Linked DNA regions of Homo sapiens: region 1 is linked to region 2. Evidence: promoter capture Hi-C in 16 types of primary human blood cells and fetal thymus (Javierre and others, 2016). All regions are on one chromosome and are shown on one strand. Each heading gives the region's core, a stretch centred on a gene start or on the middle of the fragment in contact. The rest is flanking DNA. Distances are from core to core; before and after follow the strand shown.

Evidence for each region. The method cuts DNA at HindIII sites, captures the fragments that hold promoters and counts their contacts. A CHiCAGO score of 5 or more calls a contact.
Region 1: a fragment that was not itself captured here is called in contact with the fragment with the promoter of NIPAL4 in region 2 in 1 of 17 cell types (total B cells); the score reaches 6.4 in total B cells.

Annotation. Positions count from the first base shown.
Region 1 is chr5:157,749,584-157,753,869 of GRCh38, reverse strand. It overlaps LSM11 (LSM11, U7 small nuclear RNA associated), which reads right to left. Exons shown (of 4, transcript NM_173491.4): 2 at 2,341-2,480. Among named protein-coding and RNA genes, the nearest start is that of LSM11, 8.0 kb to the right of the region's middle. The HindIII fragment of the contact is 2,157 bases long and covers 1,153-3,309 here.
Region 2 is chr5:157,457,141-157,461,618 of GRCh38, reverse strand. It overlaps NIPAL4 (NIPA like domain containing 4), which reads right to left and starts at 1,406. Exons shown (of 6, transcript NM_001099287.2): 1 at 1,262-1,406. The coding sequence starts at 1,298. It overlaps NIPAL4-DT (NIPAL4 divergent transcript), which reads left to right and starts at 1,519. Exons shown (of 3, transcript NR_136205.1): 1 at 1,519-1,611. RefSeq lists a silencer at 1,353-1,512. The HindIII fragment of the contact is 3,531 bases long and covers 470-4,000 here.

The DNA.
Region 1 (4,286 bases), core at 982-3,481, 290 kb before region 2:
CTAGGCAGAAGAAAATGGTGACACCTGGTACCTTCTGTGTAATATTTTTAAGCTGCTATCACCATATAAGATGGGTTTCACCTATGGATGGTAAGGGCCTTTATGACTGCATGGTAGAAGGTCTTAAATTTCAGTGTGCAAGAATATCTAGGAGGTTTATTAAAATACGAACCCAAAGCTATTCTGCTGGAGATTCTGTTTTGGTAGGTCTGGGATGAAGCCCAGGAACCTTTTGTTTCAACCAGAAGCCCCAGGTGATTCTGATGCAGGATGGCTTTAGATCCCACTTTGAGGAACATTACTGCTTCTTTACCCGCTTCAGTTTCTATGTCTTATGAAAGCAATTAACAGAGATTAACCAGGGTTACACACAGAATTGCTGGTGAGTTCTCATCACCGAGAGCAACCTCGACAGGACAGCTGTTAGGACCAAATGAGAAGTACAAGACAAATTCCTTTGAAAAGTGTAAATCACCCTACAAATAGAAGCTGACAGTACTGTTATAATCACCACTATCATCTAACACATTCTCTTCAATTCTTCAAAGGTAAAAAGATCATAATAAAACATTTTTCCCTGCATTTTGGAAATGAGAAAACTGAGGCTCAGAGAAATTATCTTGCTTACAGTCACACAGTTACCAAGTGATGATGCTAGGATTCAAATTCCCTAATGGTTAAAAACATGGTTTTAGGAGTTAGGCCGAGGAAAAAGTTTGGCACTTCCACTTACTAACAGTGTGATCTGCGACCAACATTCCAATCTCTCTAGAATCAATTTCTTCATTTGTGAAATGGAACAGTAATAGTACCCACAACTCATTCATTGAGATAATATATGAAGCCCTCAGTATAGTACCTGGCACATAGCAGGTACTCAATATATGTTAGCAGCTACTGTTCTTATCCAGGAGGATGCGTGGATGGGGATAAAGCACAGGGAAAAGGAAAGTTGGAGATAGAAGACCATATGGAAAAGAAACACCAGAAAGCTCTGGTGGTTCTTTTTTTTTTTTTTTTTTTTTTGACAGAGTCTCGCTCTGCCACCCAGGCTGGAGTGCAGTGGCATGATCTCGGCTCACTGCAACCTCCGCCTCCCAGCTTCAAGTGATTCTCCTCCCTCAGCCTCCTGAGTAGCTGGGATTACAAGCTTGTGCCACCATGTCTGGCTAATTTTGTATTTTTAGTAGAGATGGGGGTTTCCCTATGTTGGCCAGGCTGGTCTTGAACTCCTGGCCTCAGGCGATCCGCCTGCCTCGGCCTTCCAAAGTGCTGGGATTACAGGTGTGAACCACCGCGTGCAGCCTAGTAGTTCTTAACTACCTCAAATTATAGTTGTGCTATTACATATCCCTTCTCTCCTACAAATGTCTAGAAAAAAAGTAAGCCTCTAGAAGGCTAGGAAGTGTGGCACACTCCCTCATTATAAAACCACCATGTGGCCGGGCGCAGTGGCTCATGCCTGTAATCCCAGCACTTTGGGAGGCTGAGGCAGGCGGATTACCTGAGGTCTGGAGTTCAAGACCAGCCTGGCCAACATGGTGAAACCCTGTCTCTACTAAAAATACAAAAATCAGCTGGGCATGGTGGCAGGGGCCTGTAATCCCAGCTACTCAGGAGGCGGAGGTTGCAGTGAGCTGAGATTGTGCCACTGCACTCCAGCCTGGGTGACAAGAGCAAAACACTGTCTCAAAAAAAAAAAAAAAAGACATCATGCAAAATGCTTTGTTTACTGATGTCTGCTTCACCTCTATCCTTATTTACCTTCCCATGTACTGTAAAGTGCAAGTTCCTTTCTGAAACTTTTGCACCTAGCATGGGGTTCAGCCAAAATGGGAAGTCAATAAATGTTTTTCTTAATTAATGAAAGAATGGTTGGTAGAAAATCAACTAAAAATTACTAAACCGATAAAATAATTGGTCCTTAAGGCTGGGTTTCTCAACCCTGGCACTAAGGACTTTTCAGATTGGATAATTCTTTGTTGTTGAGGGACTATCTTGTGTGTTGTAGACTGTTTAGCTGCAACCCTGGCCTCTACCAATTAGATGCCAGTAGTACCCTCTCCTATAGTGGTGACAATAAAATGTCCCCAGACATTGATGAATGTTCCTGGGAGTGAAGGAAGAACAAAATTACCTTGGTTAAGAGCCACTGCCTTAAGGAGAAGGAAGCAATAAAAAGACCTTTTCTTGTTGTTGCCCAAAAGTATGCAAAAATTCTAGTTCTTCTAAGAAGTTATTTTTTGGGTTTTACTTAATGCAGTTACTCAGGTCCTTTAAATATTATAGAAGATATAATCTGTAGGAGGTTCTCCAGCCCCTTGAGAAAGGCTTAATTACCATATTCCAGAACTTGTCGAATGCAACAAGGAAGCCTGTACAGACGCCCCGAAGTCCCTTGAAAGTGCGGATGTGAACATTCACCTTCACCCCCTCACGGATACAGCGATGGAGTTCACCCAGAGGGCTGCCTTCGTGCACTGAAACAAGAGAAGAACAGTCAGGACAGTTTTAATATCTGCCCTCATTCCCAGAATTAAGCCACGACCACCCAACTTCGGCCAGCAACATGTGGCCCATGGTAGAGTGACAATCTCACTATTGGAACAGGAAGGTCCAATGGGCAACATGGCTCGTACGGCCAACACACACTGACACAAGACTAGATTCCAACAGAATGTGGATCATCCATATGTATGAATATCAGCCAAATGTTTCACTACCGGTATATCTCTTATTCCACGATGTCACTGATTTTAACATGCACTATCACTTAACTTTTGGGGTTGGCCGGGCGTGGTGGCTCACGTCTGTAATCCCAGCACTTTGGGATGCTGAGGTGGGCGGATCACCTGAGGTCAGGAGTTTGAGATCAGCCTGGCCAACATGGTGAAACCCCATCTCCACTAAAAATACAAAAATTAGCCAGGCATGGTGGCCCATGCCTGTAATCTCAGCTACTCAGGAGGCTGAGGCAGGAGAATGGCTTGAACCCAGGAGGTGGAAGTTGCAGTGAGCCGAGATCGCACCATTGCACTCCAGCCTGGGCAACAGAGCAAGACTCCATCTTGAGAAACACACACACACACGGGCACGCAAACATTAAATGTATACATTAACAGCGAGATCCTTCTCAATTCTGTGCCTTAAGACAATTCATGAATCACATATCCAGCTTGAGTCTTCCAAAAAAACAAAAACCTTGTTTACATGTTCAAAGGAAACAAACTGCACTCTGCCCTTAAACATGTACAATCCTGTCAGAAAGAAAGGCCTTTGACCCCACCAAAGCTACTCCATGCACAAGCTTTCTGGACTCACTGGTGTTTCTGGGAGGAAAAGCACTGGTTCTGGCCCAAGCCCTGACAGTGTAAAAGGCACCTGGCTGAGTATCTGGCTCCTATGACACTACTAATAAGCATCATGTGAAGAGAGCAGGATAATGACTCATAGGAAGAATATTGAGACTATAAATTTCAGCTTTTATTATGAAGGATTCTCAGAGCGTGGGAGGAAAGATGAATTTTATTTTTATTATTTCATGTTAACTCAGCTCTCACAATATGCTGGCTATGGTATATAAAACCTCCCAAAAGAAAGCCGTACACATTCTTTTTTCCTGAGACAGGGTCTCACTGTCACCCAGGCTGGAGTGCAGTGGCACAATCACAGCTCACTCCAGCCTTGACCTCCCTGGCTCAAGCGATCCCCCTAGCTCAACCCACTGAGTAGCTGGGACTACAGGCACGCACTACGCACCCCCAATCTCTCTCTCTTTCTCGTGCGTACACAGTCTCACTCTTTCCCAAGTTTGCAACGCAAAATTCTGTAGAAAGTTTATTTTTGGTCAGGTCTTAGAAGTCTGGATATATAGAGTATTTGGCATTGACAGTAGACAAATGAAAAATCTCTCCTGCTTTGTTTCTAGTGACATAAAGGAGAACAACAGTCCTGCACTTCAGTTTGGATAACTAAATTGGTTCCTCCTGAAGCCACCTTATCCCTCTGTCATGGATTGGCTTATAAATGATGGCTGTGATAAATTAATAAAAGATTCTTAGAAGAAAATGACTTAGCAGACTAGCAGGAGTTTATGTCAGATTAACGGTGTGAGAATAACTCGGAGTTGGAAGCGACACGAAGCAGTGACTTTGGAAAAGACCATGAGAATTCTGGTCTGACCATCATCATTTACCTCTCTTCTAGCAGTATTTTAAAGTCCTTTGTACATTTGCTAGCTAAGGGTGTGTATGGGTGTGTGGGTGTGTGTGTGTGTGTGTGCGCGC
Region 2 (4,478 bases), core at 157-2,656:
TGTTTCTCCAGCTCAGGCTTCCTTGCCCAAGAGCTGAATCTGGGGAGTTCCCTGAGCCCAGGAAATGAGCCAGAACCTGGGAGAACATGGGCTAGGGGAGGTGACTCCTGAGAGGAAGACCAAACTCATCCCCACGCCCTTCCCCTGCTCCCTGAAGGTGCACCTCTAGCAGATGGAGCCAACGAACCCTCTGTGGATGGACTTGGCTGTCACAGTAAAGCCCGCAACACCCAAGGGCTGAGCATCCTCCATTGAGTCAAGTTCTCCCACTGCAGTGAAAAGTAAAAGACAGAGGGCTGATGGCCAAAGTAATCCAATTCTGAGCATGGGCCAGATGATTCCTGTTATCTCTTCCAGAATATGCTAGGACTGGGGAACACATTCTGGCCTAGAGAAAAGGTGAGGCTGAAAATGCCTGCCTTGTTCAGGAAACCAAAGTCAGACACCTAACAGGCTGGCTTTGAAAGCTTCACTGTAGAAGGGAAGAGGTTAGAGAAACAGGGACATGCCACAGCCTGCAGTTCCAAGACAAGGTAGGAAAGTGGAGCCACACCAAGGAAGGAGTTGAGGTTTTACTGTCCACCAGCCTTGGATCTATATTCCATTTCCTCACTGTATTACCTTGAGCAAATTATTAGCTGCTCAGAGCCTCAGTTTCTGGATCTTTAGAGTGGGGATAGCAAGATAGTAAAATAATAATACCTACCTACCTTCTAGAGTTGTTTTAAGGATTCAGTGAGATAATGCGGGTAAAGGGCCTAGTCCACTACCTGCTTTATGGTCAGAACGCAATAGGAAGTCAGGGGTCTTTCTTTACCCCTTCCTGTGGTTCTTTTTCTTTTCCAAAGACAAGACCGTCCTGTGATGGTCCTCCCATTGACCCAGAGAGAAAGCCCAAACTGCGCAGGTACTAAAACCTGAAGCAACTACACATTAAAAACACAGAATCCTCCCCCCGCCCCCACCACCTCTCAGGGTGTCTGCTGTCGTCAAAATGCCTGCCCCCCACTAACCCCCCATCTCAACCCAGGGGACATACTTTCCTTCCCTGACTCCTCTCAGCCATCCCAGCTGCGAAGATGAAAGTGAAGTCTCAGCCAGAACCCAGATCTTCAAAGCTGGGTGGGAGCCACCTCGTGCTGGCCCTGCCCCTCCCCAGCTTTGGCCCCCCTGGGAGGAGAGGATGCGAGGGAGAGCGGTGGCAAGGAGGGGAGGGCGCGAAGCGCGGAGCCCGCCTGGTCCCCAGCCCTGCCGTACGCACCGTTCTCGCAGCTGGTGTTGCTGACCCGCAGCTCCATGGGGCCCGGGGCACACGAACCGACGCGCGGGCGGACGGCGCCCGGGCTCCCCAGCTCCGGAGCAGGTGGCCGCGACTTGTCCCCCGCGTGGCTCGCGCGCGAGAAGCCGCCGGGGTCCGGACCCAGGGGTGGGGAGAGTGACGCGTCCCAGAGTGGGAGAGTCCCCGGGGAGGAGTCACCCGGCATCTTGGGCAATTCCGGGGGCAGGGGGCCCAGGGCTGGGGCCGCCCGCAGAGGGGCGCATGCCTTCCTGGGGTGAGGACGCTGCCAGGCTCCCAGCTCTGGAGTCACCGCCCCGTGCTAGGGGCAAGAGGTGAGGAGGCGGGTTCCCCGGCACCGCTCCTCCGATGCCTGCACCGGCACCCAGCTCCATCCCCAGGGAAAGAGTACAGGGGACCTAGATGGCTGGAGAAGGGGCAACTTTCCTGCCGAGGTGGAAGTGGCAACATAGGGGTTGGAAGTGGGTACTGCTGCCAATTGGGAACCTGGGTTCCTTCTTTTCCTTCCTTCTCGCCCTCCTACCCTCCCCCTCTCCTTCCTCCCCTCCACCTTTCCTCCCTTCCTTCCATTTCACCCTCCTGCCCTTCCTCCCTGCCTTCTGCCCTGCGACCTCCTTTCCTTGCCTTACCCGTTCATTGATTCAACCCAGGTCTGATCTGTGCTGGTAGGTAACAGGTACATAGTGAGTTAATGCTCAATATATATTTATGTCTAATGAATAGATAATAGGAGCTTGGTAAATTAAATGAAAGAAGGAAATGAAGTGATTGGAGACCAAAATGAGTCAGACTATTCCCTGTCCCCCAAGTACCTTATATTTTAATGGGGGAAACAAAATGTGATCATCTCTTAGAGACCAATGTTTTTGAAATTACCACTTTAAAATTATTTATACACACACACACATACACACGTTGTGATGGAAAGCATATTTGTTACTATGGGTAACAGTAAAAAGCAAGTTAGAAAACCACTGACCTGGAGCATAAAAATAGGTATGTAGAGTTTGCTATAGGCCAGGCAGAGTTCTAAGTGCTGAAAAATTCCAGTTCATTTAATCTTCATGACCGCCTTATAATGTACAGACTTTTATTATTTACCAAAAGGAAACTGAGGCACAAAGTGCTCAAGTAACTTGCTGGGGATCTCAGCTGAGAAGCAGAAAAGCCAGGATCAAACTCGTGCTGTCAGTGGTCACATTAAGCCGCCTGGCATTTTACACTGAAATAAACTGCTCCTGGGCAGTGAGGGTGTGGGGCTACTGAGAAAGCAGTGATTGGTTCTGCCAGTGGTGCTCACCGGCTTCCTGGAGGAGGCAGCTTTTAAGAATTGTTATGTATGGAGTCGTCAGCATGGGCCAGACACTGTGCTAACCCCTTTCCAGGCACTGTCTCATCGAAGCCTCCTAGGAGACAGATATCCTTACTCTTTCCATGCTACAGATAAGAGGAAACTGTTATTTTTAAAAATTTTATCATGAGATAATTTTAGACTTATAGAAGAGTTACGAAAATAGTATAGAGAGTTCCCATATACCTGTCACCAGCTTCCCTTAATGTTAACATCTTGTATAGGAATAGAAAAAACTGTCCTTTAAATACTCTGAGACACTTGCTCCCAAGGTTGCACAGCTAGTGAACGAGGGTGCCAGGTGTAAACCGAGCTGCTCTGACCCCAAGCCTGTCCTCCTACCTACGACCCTCCACTGTCTACTTGCGGACCTCTAGCTGGGCCTCTAAGGATGGGTTCTCCCAGCATGGGGCTTCCTCTAATTTGCTGGATGACTTTAAACAAGTTGCTTACTCTACATAAGGATCAATTTCTTTGTCAAATGCAACAGCCCCTTCTCCAAGGGGTCGGGATCGGGTTGGGGAAGGGAGAGGTTAAAAGAGAAAGGGAAATGTGAGACACAGCAAATGTAACAAGCCACGTTTGCTCATTTTACTTGCTGCATAATTTCACAAGCCCTTGATTCTGTAATGATGTGCACCTCTCTGGAAAAATGCTTTGAAAACAAAGCAGGATACAGCACAAGGCCCCCACAACTTTTGCCTGAGACACTATATTTCTTAAAAGATAAATGACCCTAGACCTTGCCTATTCCTACACATAGGATAATGTTTGACAAGGTTAGTGACTATGCCTCTATCATCTATAACCAGATATACTCTTGCACCCAGACTTTCATGTGATTCTGCTTTACTGTAACTTCTGAGCAAGTTTGATGTAATGTTTGAGCACATACTGCACTTCTGCTACGTGTATATCAGCTATGAGCTAAAACACTGTTTCAGAGCAGTGGGACAGGACCTCTCTGAAAGACTCCTCCCAGACTTTGTCTTCAGTCTCTAGTCCTCAGTAAGACTTCTGCTTTTTTTTTTTTTTTTTTTTTTGAGACAGAGTCTCACTCTGTTGCCCAGGCTGGAGTGCAGTGGCTCGACCTCGGCTCACTGCAAGCTCCGCCTCCCATGTTCAAGCGATTCTCCCACCTCAGCTTCCGGAGTAGCTGGGATTACAGGCGCCCACCACCACGCCCAGCTAATTTTTGTATTTTTAGTAGAGACAGTGTTTCACCATGTTAGCCAGGCTGATCTCAAACTCCTGACTTCAGGTGTTCCACCTGCCCCGGCCTCCCAAAATGCTGGGATTACAGAACCTCAGTAAGACTTCTGAATAAAACTAACTTTAATTCCTTAAAAGCTTGATTTTCTTTTAGTTGACAGAAGTCATAGCCATTGCCAACAGAATATATCCAAGTCTGCAGGTGAGTGTGCCCAGGCCCGCCTCTAACTTTGGAGGTGTGTGGTACCACCGTTCAGGTAGAGGGGAACACCTCCAAGACTATATGAATTTGAACACAGAGCAGCAAGACACTAGATGATTGGCCCTATTCGGAAGTGAGACTTCATGATGAAAAAATATATGCATCCATGCTACCTGCAAGGGAGAATTTGACAAGAGAATTCAACTTATCTTTCTCTTCTCTAAGCATTTCTGCTGTTCAGCTCCTCCTTGTGCTATAAAACGGAGTCAGCACTGAACCTGGAGTGGTACAGTCCTCAAACCCTCACTGCATTCAAACTTGACTGCTTTTATTCCAAGAACATAGGGTGAGAGATTCGGAGTATTTCCCTCTGGTCTGACCTTTTTTCTTCCTCGCTTTATTGAAGTATGACTGAC